3 separate regions of the Homo sapiens genome follow, and regions 1 and 2 are each linked to region 3. Evidence: promoter capture Hi-C in 16 types of primary human blood cells and fetal thymus (Javierre and others, 2016). All regions are on one chromosome and are shown on one strand. Each heading gives the region's core, a stretch centred on a gene start or on the middle of the fragment in contact. The rest is flanking DNA. Distances are from core to core; before and after follow the strand shown. Region 1 overlaps ATF7IP (activating transcription factor 7 interacting protein). Region 2 overlaps ATF7IP (activating transcription factor 7 interacting protein). Region 3 holds the start of HEBP1 (heme binding protein 1).

Region 1 (2,996 bases), core at 301-2,800, 1.4 Mb after region 3:
TTTCGTTTCTTCGTCTATAAAATGGGGGAAATTTCCTATCTATTTGGTAAGCATATGCTCAGAATCAATTTACATAATGTTTCAGAATAGTATCTTGAAATACTCTGCAAAAATCTTGCATACTAATTTTCTCAGTAATATCCAAATGCATTTCAGTTTATTTGCCTCTCGAGTGTCATATACCTTTTCAAGTGTGATTGGATCAGTGTGTATTTAAAAACTATGGGAAATTTCTTATATAACTCATGCTCAGAAGCAAGAAGTGCTAAGTAACATCATATCCACTTAGTAATGTTATATATTCGTTTTTGTAGTACTGGGTCCTACTCTGTTAGCATAAATTAGCCATCCTTTGTTGTGTATGGATATGGCAGATGTATTTATTAAGTAAAGCCAATATAGAATGTTGACATTACAGAATTTAGAGGAGTAGGAGAAGTGTTTTGGGTATAGTCTGGCTGAGTTCTTCAAATACACTGTGAGAAAATAACTTATCTAAAAACATGACTTGAATTCACGGCCTAGAGTTTCCTGTGTTTCAGTACAAATAAGAATCATAAAAACAGTAAATTCTCTTTGAAAAAAATTCATTTTCAGAGCTATAAACTGGCAGCCAGCAAACTTACTTTTATTCTTTAGTCACCAGCCCATTTCTCTAATTGTTTGTTTTTTGTTTTTTTTGTTTTTGAGACGGAGTTTCGCTCTTGTTGCCTAGGCTGGAGTGCAATGGCGCGATCTCGGCTCACCGCAACCTCTGCCTCCCAGGTTCAAGCAATTCTCCTGCCTCAGCCTCCCGAGTAGCTGGGTTTACAGGCATGCACCACCACGCCCGGCTAATTTTGTATTTTTAGTAGAGACTGGGTTTCTCCATGTTGAGGCTGGTCTTGAACTCCTGACCTTAGGTGATCCGCCCGCCTCGGCCTCCCAAAGTGCTGGGATTACAGGCGTGAGCCACCGCCCCCAGCCCCATTTCTCTAATTGTTAACATTTAAAGTTGTCAGATTTTACCTAAAAATCTAGATGTCTTGCCTCTTGAAAAGCAAACAACATTTTTGCTTGAGGATAGCAATCTACAATTGAGTATAGATGCTGTCTCCTTCAGATAGGGCCTTCTCTTGCCCACCTCTGGTCCTCTTCACTGAATCACGTTACCTGCGTGGCCTTGGAAGACAGTTCCTTTTAAAGACCTATCCTACGTATTTGATAGTTTATTGGCAGCCTTAAATATCTAAAATATAACTTCTAACCCAAAAGAAAGTAAACATAAGTAAAATTTAGCCTACTTTACTTGGTAGGAGAGACTTAGAATATATAAAGTCAGTTTACTCTTTAGAAGATATGGCACCTTTTGTAACCTTTCACTTTGTCCTAATTTTATATAGAGTGCCATGGGAGCCAAATGAAGGAGATCCAATGGCATAACAACAAGTAACGATTGAAAGTGAAGAGATTAAAGAAATACTAATTAGAAACATCTAAGTACCTTGAGATCTTTTATGTGATAATCAGTTCTGTTTTCTTTAAATGTTACCGCTGTGTTAAAGGACATCACTATCAACTTGATGTTCTTAATGGTGATACTGAATAAGAAAAAGTTAAAGTGTATTCAAGCTATGCAGTTTACTGAACAGATAAATGAAATAACATTTTATAAAAGATTTTTGCTCAAATTAGTTGAGCTAAGAAGTTTATCACTGAAAATAATGAGTAAATTTCCTAATAGAATGTTTTCTTAACCGTACACTAGATTAGATAATGGCCGTTAGGCCATTACAAACTTTATTTTTGTTGAAAACTTACATCTATTTACATTTATTAATTTAACATTTACAGTGTCTATGTGAAGACTACCTTGATGATGCATGAAACATGATAATTTATAATCTTGATCTGACTTAAATTTGAATTCCACATTTCCCAGAGTGAAAGCCAGCTTGTTAACATTCAAATAATACCACGACATTGGTAACTCTAAGGAAGTGCTAAAAGAATGTTATGCCTTTTTGGAAAATGGTTTTCTAGTTAGAGTTCAACTTTAGAGAAAATTGAAAAAGTGATTAACTTGCACAGGAAACAGTGACTCCCCTGCTTTACTGCTCTTCACACTTTGAAAAGAGAAAGTGATTTGAGAGAAAGCCTAATGTCTATTCAAATAAGTGATTGTTTTTTAATTGCTCAGGTTAGAACTCTCACAAAGAGTTCTCTGTTGGTGATATGTAACAGTCTGTTATTAGTCATTAATATGTGAATATGGAAATTGTGAAAACAGCACAAATTGATTTAGCAAATCTTCATCAGTTTAGTGAAAGAGGGACCTTAACACTGGAGAGAGGTCTGAGGAGTTGCTTCTGCATCTGCCTGAGGGAATCTTGTCTTTCCTTCTGAAGTAAGGCAGATACAGCTAGCCAACTGCCAGTAGAACTATCTGACTCGTGTATCCCTTTGTTGGATATAGAAATACCTGTACCATGGCATACATAGTGGAAAACATTAGTATAGAAGTTAGGAAAAGATTACTTCTGCTCTCGTACTGTTATTAAGTAATTGTGTAGTTTTGGATAAATATTTAACCTCTTTGTGTTATCCCTGATCATTAAATGAGATGGGTCGTTGGAAGAACACCAACTTTGAGTCAAACAGAGTCAGGGTGAATCCATGTTCTTCCTCTCATTAGTTATAGGTTATATGAAAAATGGATATATAGTGCTCAAAGTACAGTACCTATTTATGATTATGTGTTCAGTAAGTCTTAGGTATTTTGTTTGTTTGTTTGTTTGTTTTGAGACAGAGTTTTGCTCTTGTTGCCCAAGCTGGAGTGCAATGGTGCTATCTCAGCTCACTTCAACCTCCGCCTCCCAGGTTCAAGCGGTCTTCCTGCCTCAGCCTCCTGAGTAGCTGGGATTATAGGCGTGCGCCACCATGCCTGGCTAATTTTGTATTTTTAGTAGACACGGGGTTTCACCATGTTGGCCAGGTTGGTCTCGAACTCCTGACCT
Region 2 (3,009 bases), core at 70-2,569, 1.4 Mb after region 3:
AAGCTAAAAAGATGGAAAGGGAATCTGCTGTTTTGAGGACCAGGAGAAAGAGTTTGATGGAACAATAAAGGATGACTTGACTGCTGCAGCTTATTCCCAGCTAAGGCTTTGGAGCCTTAGATGTATATCTGCCCTGTTACTCTTATTAGATAGAATGTCATAGGAAAAAGCATGTAAGGGAAAAGAGAGACTGCTTTTGAACTCTTTTATTTCCTTTTAGGTGGTAAATGTCAGAAGTGAATTCCATTAGAGTAAAAACTAAGCTGCCACAGTATAGGAGACTCCATTCCTGTTGTTTAAAGATGACACATGTTTTTTTCTCATGTAACCATACAAAGTAAGACTGTTTAGAGTTTGTAAGTGGTTTTGCCTTAACATATGGCTTCCATCACTAGGTGAAACATGATTACTCTCTAGTTTTACTAGCTAGAGGCAAGGAAGAAAGAACAATGGGAGTGCATATTCTTTCTTTTGAGAGCATGATATGGAAGTGGCACATAGCACTTTGACTCATGGTTTATGTGTGATCATTTAGTCATTGGGACATATTTAGCTGGGAAAGGAAGTCTGGGAAATATATCTAGCTGGATAATCATATGCTTAGCTAAAACTAGAGAATTTTATAAAAGAGAAATGGATATTAATGAATAGCATTTTCTGCTATATAAGGAATTGGGAGAAGTGGTCTCAAAGTACTTCATAATTTGGTACTGAAAACTATTTCTCTTTTAAGATTTAGGTTCAGTTATAGTATAACTGTATATTTTCCATTGAAATGGTATTTTGGGGGTTTTGTGTTCATGATTTGTGGTTGGGGTCCCAGTTATTATAAATATTTATATTTGATAGAATTCTTCCCCTCTCTGCTTGCCGTTGAAAACATTATGATTAGTTTTGCAAGAATTAGAATTTCAAATTTTTAAAACTCAGTGTAGTATTTTTGAACTTTACAGGTTAACTTGCTTAATTCAAAAGGACTGTAGATGAATCGAGTGACAATTGTTTGAATAGTTTATGTTTGCATTATTTTATCCAGATTTTTTTTTCTCTGTTTATAACTGTATGTATAAAATATACATTTTCCATGATGGAAAATATGACTTTTTTTTTTTTTAATTGAGACTAGGGTCTCACTCTGTCACTCCAGCTGGAGTGCAGTGGTGTGATCATGGCTCACTGTAACCTTGACCTCCTGGGCTCAAGGGATCCTCCTGACTCAGCCTCCTAGGTAGCTTGGACTACAGGCACATGCCACCAAACCCAGCTAATTTTGTAATTTTTTTTTTTTTTTTTTTTTGTGGAGATGGGGGTCTTGCCTTGTTGCCCAGGCTGGTCTTGAACTCCTGGGCTCAAGCAATCCTCCCCTCTTGGCCTCCCAAAATGTTGGGATTACAGGTGTGAGCCACTGTGCCTGGCCGAAAATGTGACTTCCAAGGGCCTTGTAATATACACAGGTAAAAAGATTGTGGTTGTAAATTCTCTGCATATAGGCAAAACTTACCTGATTAATAAGTAAGTAGTTAAAAGTAGCTTTCTACAGAATATGACAAGTAAAACAATATATATTTTTGTAGGGTACAGAAAGTGGTGAGAGTGTTGGAAGGAGATCAAGGAGATTTTATGGGAGTTGTATTTTAAGGAATGAATTAGACAGATAATACTAGTAAAGAGAATAAATAGTATGTTCAAAATCTTAGAGCCAGAAAGGAAGGTAGTGTGTTAGGAGAACTCTTAATAGCTCTGTGATACAAATCCTTGGTTTTTGTGAATAAAAGTCATAGTTGCCATGGCACCCACATAGTATGCCTATTAAAGCATGTTGTTGCTCTCAACTGGAAATTCTCTAATTTTTCTTTGCTTTACTTCATATATTTTTTAAAGGCATTTATTCCTTTCCACTTTTATATTTATAGTTATTTGTTTTTTGTGTAGTACTTTATAAGTTTCCTGGGGTTAGGAATCATATCTTATTGATATATCTGACAATTTTTTAAGACAAATCCTTTCTAATAAGGTATGATAAGACCACTATTAAAAGTGTAAGATTGCTTTCCACCATGCCTTGCTTTCCACCATGCCTCCCTTAATATTCAATAAATACTTGCTTATTGAAAGAATAGAATTCCTTCGTTTTAGGTGGAGGTGAAAAAAAAAAGGGAATAAGATATTCTAATTATTTTCTTTTATTTAACTCATTATCCACAGATGTCAGAACTTTTTTTTTTTAATCAAACATGTAATTTACTCAGATGGCAAATACCCACATGATGAATTGTCATGGGAAGATTTGACAGGCACTTTACATATGAAAAATAATAAATAGTTGCTTTTAGGAAAAACAGTTTTCAATGTCATCCATTAAGAACCAGTTGCTTGTTAATAAAAAGTTTCTAAAATATGACTGTGAAGAACCTACGTATGTAAATTAATAAGGGTTTGAGGAAAAGATGGAATGATATAATTATTTTGTATTTTAGGTTTGTATAATCCTCTTCCCCCACCAAACTTACTTTAAATGATTTAAACATTGAAAGATAAAAATAAATAAAAAAATGAAGAAAGAAAAGAAGAACAAAAGAAAAAACAAAAAATTTTCCTAAAATCAGTTAGTTATACAGTGAAGTGGAAAGAACAGTAGTTTTGTATTGGGACCTGGGCAATTAGTGTCTCCTCTCAGTGTTCTTTATCTTTAAAATGTGGTGTTACCACCTACATGGTAGTGTTGTGAGGGTTAAATATGATTAGATATATAAAATGCTTAGCATCTGTGCCTCACACATATCTCTAGCTTTAATCAATTGGTGAATCAATTAGTCAGTCATGAATATTTATTAAGAAGCAACTATGTGCAGGGAGCCCTGCAGTACAGGGAGATTTATGAAAATAATATTCTTGATTTCTGGAGCTAGAATGTAAATGCATTTAAAAAGTAACTTGGAAAGGTCGGTTTCATATTACCACTCATTAGTAAGGTAAATAAGCATTTAAGAAAGTAGTTTACTTGTAAAG
Region 3 (3,363 bases), core at 45-2,544:
CTGGGCCTTTGTGCATGCTCTTCTCTGTTGTGTGCACTCCTACACATCCCTGAGGCCCCAGCTCAGGACACTCCACTGAGGTCCCCATCATAGCCCCCTGGCAGAATTGACTGCCTCTGTGCTCCCTGCGTAGCGCATTTATATCTATTCTGCACAGATCTTGTTCTTTTACACAGTAGTCCCCCTTATCTATAGTAGATACCTTCCAAGCCCCCCAGTGGATACCTGAAACGGTGGACAAAACTGAACCCTGTATCTACTACGTTTTTTCCTATACATACATACCTATGATATAGTTTAACTTTATCAATTAGGCACAGTAAGAGATGAACAACAATAATAAAATAACAGCAATTATAACAATATGCCAGCATTGCTAAGCTTGCACTTTGGGGCCATTACTAAGTAAAATAAGGGTTACTTCAATACCGCCACGGTCGATCCGATCACCAAGCTAGCTACTAAGTGACTAAGGGCGGCTACTAGAGATAGGAGGCTGACCTTGGACAAAGGGGCATTCCGGTCCCAGGAATCAAGATTTCATCCTGCTACGCAGAATGGCCGGAAACTTAAAACTTAGGACTTCTGTATTTCTGGAATTTTCCATTTAATAGTTATGGACAAGAGCTGACCACAGGTAACTGAAATCGCGGATAAAGGGGGCTACTATCCGCAGTTCTCTAGTACTTGGGAGTTTCTTGCGACACTCATTTCTGCAACCGAGTGTCTCTCAACAAATCAAACTGTTCGGAATGTTTGGAATATTTTAAACGAAAGAATGCATTCAACAGGCAGTGCCCAACTCCCCAAGTTGGGATTCTCTCCTTGGATCAGTCTCTCCTGTTTACCCCCCTCCTCTCACCACCGGCTGCAGGGGGACCTCTCACTCCTTTCCTTCCCAGTCCAAATGCTGGGCGGTGGAGAGCCGCACTCGCGACAGACACCAGAACGCACCTTCGATAGCACATTCCTGCCCCACCTGCCCCTCAGCACCCGCTGCAGCCCCGACGAGGGTGGGGGTGGGAGGCAGCAATCCTTCAGGTCCTCGGCAGCCCTGCGGGCCTACCTTGTCCCCTTTGCTTAGGACCTGCCAAGGCCACGTCTCTACGCTTCCGAACAGCGAGTTCTTGATCATGCCCAACATGTTGTAGCCGAGACGCTCCCGACGCACGGGAGGACGTGAGGTGGCGGGGGCGACGGAGCACCACGGGCAGCGACCACCGGCGGCAGGGCGGCAGGGCGGCAGGGCGGCAGGGCGGCAGGGTGGCAGGGCGGCAAGGCGGCGGGACGGCGAGGCGGCGAGGCGAGAGGCGGGGCTAGAGGCAGGGGCCAGAGGGCGTGGCTAGAGGGCGGGGCGGCAATTCAGCCCGGCGGTGAGGCAAGGGGGCGGGACGGCGAGGTGAAGGGGCGGAGAGAGAGGGCGGGGCGGCGAGGCGAGGGGGCGGAGAGAGGGCGGGTCAGTGATGCGAAGGGCGGGCAGCAGGGCAGCAGTGCAGCAGTGCAGCAGTGCGGTGAGGCGAGGGTGCGAGGCGGCTAAGCAAGGGATGGGCCCGCCGTGGCGAGCCGCTGGGCCGTGTTCCGCCTCCTTTCGGGCTTTCCGCGGGTGTCTGGGGAGGGAACCCGGCCGCGGGCCTCAGGCCGTCCCCCTCCGCAGACCCCTTCTCTTATTCTGAGTCTAACCTATCCGCTGGGGCCCTGGAAAGCGATTCTCGCCTGGAGTGGCTTTAGGCAGCGGTGGTGGGGAACGTCCTCTCTCAGGTGCCTGGGCTCCAACCTCCGAGCCCCGGGTTGCTCACGCTTCTCCGGTCCTCTACCCGAAGGCTCGATCCCGCTGGTACAGCGGCGGCCAGGCTCCCTGTCTTGGTAGCTGTCCCTCTACCCCCGCCCCATGACCTCTTCTAGACCATTGAAAGAGCATCCAAACCACTTTCCTGCTGCCACTCTTTCCTACCATCCCTCTAAATCACAGTTTCCAGGTGACTTTTCTAAGCATGGCTTTTCTCGTTCACTCCTGTTCAAAAATCTTCTCACCAATTTTGTCACCATTTACTCAGCTGAGTGCCTGCTTTCTGTCAAGTATTTTACCAATAAATCTCTACTCCACACCACCGACAAGAAATATTTTGGAGCCATTTAAAAAGGAGGAAACGGAAGCTTCTGCCGCTGCCTGATCCTCCATTGCTCCGAGCCGCGCGGGTGCAGCGGGCTGTGGAGCCGCGGGCCGAGCCCCGCCGGAGCGCCCGAGAGCCCGCGCGTCCCGGGCGTCCGTCGGGGTCCGAGGTCCCTCCCTCAGGGAGTCCCCGCTCGGCAGCGCTCTCGCGTTTCACGCAGCGGCCGGGGATCTGGGACAGGCGGGGCCCCGAGGCCGAGCCTGGCGCTGCCCAGCGGCCGGTGCAGGCCTCAAGCTGGGCCGGGCGGAGGGGAACCGGCGAGTTGAAGCCCCGGGGCCGAAAGCCGGAGCCTGTGGCGGCCGCGGGGGTGGGGAGGGGGGTGGGGCGGCTTCTTGGGCAGCGCCACACGGCGGCGCAGTGATGGATGTTAACAGCAGCGGCCACCCGGACCTCTACGGGCGCCTCTGCTCTTTCCTCCTGCCGGAGGTGGGGGGCAGGCTGCCCGACCTGAGCCCCGACGGTGGCGCCGAACCGGTCGCGGTCTCCGGGACGCCGCATCTGCTGAGCGGGGGCCCCCGAGGTGACGGCCAGCCCGGCGCCCACCTGGGACGCAACCCCGGGCAATGCCTCCGGCCGCGGGGAGCAAATCAAGAAAGGGCCGAGAAAGTTGTGATCGGCTCTGTCCTGACGCTCATCTCTCTGCGATCGCGGGCAACTGCCTGGTGGTATCTCCGTGTGCTTCGTCAAGAAGCTCCGCCAGCCCTCCAACTACCTGATCGTGTCCATGGCGCTGGCCAACCTCTCGGTGGCCATGGCGGTCATGCCCTTCATCAGTGTCACCGACCTCATCGGGGGCAAGTGGATCTTTGGACACTTTTTCTGTAACGTCTTCTCCATGAATGTCATGTGCTGCACGGCCTGGATCTTGACCTTGTACGTGATCAGCATCGACAGGTACCTTGGGATCATGAAGCCTCTCACGTACCCTATGAGGCAGAAGGGGAAATGCATGACGAAGATGATTCTTTCTGTCTGCCTTCTTTCCGCCTTTGTCACTTTACCTACCATTTTTGGTCGGGCTCAGAATGTAAACGATGATAAGGTGTGCTTGGTCAGTCAAGACTTTGGCTACACGATTTACTCCACCGCAGTGGCATCCTAATCCCCATGTGCGTCATGCTTTTCATGTACTAACAGATTTACAAGGCCGCCAGGAAAAGCGCGGCCTAACACAGGTTACCTGGCTTCCCTC

What was found. The method cuts DNA at HindIII sites, captures the fragments that hold promoters and counts their contacts. A CHiCAGO score of 5 or more calls a contact.
Region 1: a contact is called between a fragment that was not itself captured here and the fragment with the promoter of HEBP1 in region 3, in 4 of 17 cell types (M2 macrophages, erythroblasts, total CD4 T cells and 1 more). The highest score is 7.1, in M2 macrophages.
Region 2: a contact is called between a fragment that was not itself captured here and the fragment with the promoter of HEBP1 in region 3, in 2 of 17 cell types (M2 macrophages and erythroblasts). The highest score is 9.2, in M2 macrophages.

What each region holds. Positions count from the first base shown.
Region 1 is chr12:14,388,958-14,391,953 of GRCh38, forward strand. The region is part of intron 1 of ATF7IP (activating transcription factor 7 interacting protein); the gene reads left to right. Among named protein-coding and RNA genes, the nearest start is that of ATF7IP, 25 kb to the left of the region's middle. The HindIII fragment of the contact is 8,543 bases long and covers 1-2,996 here.
Region 2 is chr12:14,372,997-14,376,005 of GRCh38, forward strand. All of the region lies in intron 1 of ATF7IP (activating transcription factor 7 interacting protein), which reads left to right. Among named protein-coding and RNA genes, the nearest start is that of ATF7IP, 8.8 kb to the left of the region's middle. The HindIII fragment of the contact is 4,822 bases long and covers 1-3,009 here.
Region 3 is chr12:12,998,971-13,002,333 of GRCh38, forward strand. It overlaps HEBP1 (heme binding protein 1), which reads right to left and starts at 1,295. Exons shown (of 4, transcript NM_015987.5): 1 at 1,067-1,295. The coding sequence starts at 1,144. All of the region lies in intron 2 of GPRC5D-AS1 (GPRC5D and HEBP1 antisense RNA 1), which reads left to right. It also overlaps the pseudogene HTR7P1. RefSeq lists silencers at 1,160-1,309, 1,360-1,479, 2,240-2,389 and an enhancer at 2,814-3,359. The HindIII fragment of the contact is 1,773 bases long and covers 380-2,152 here.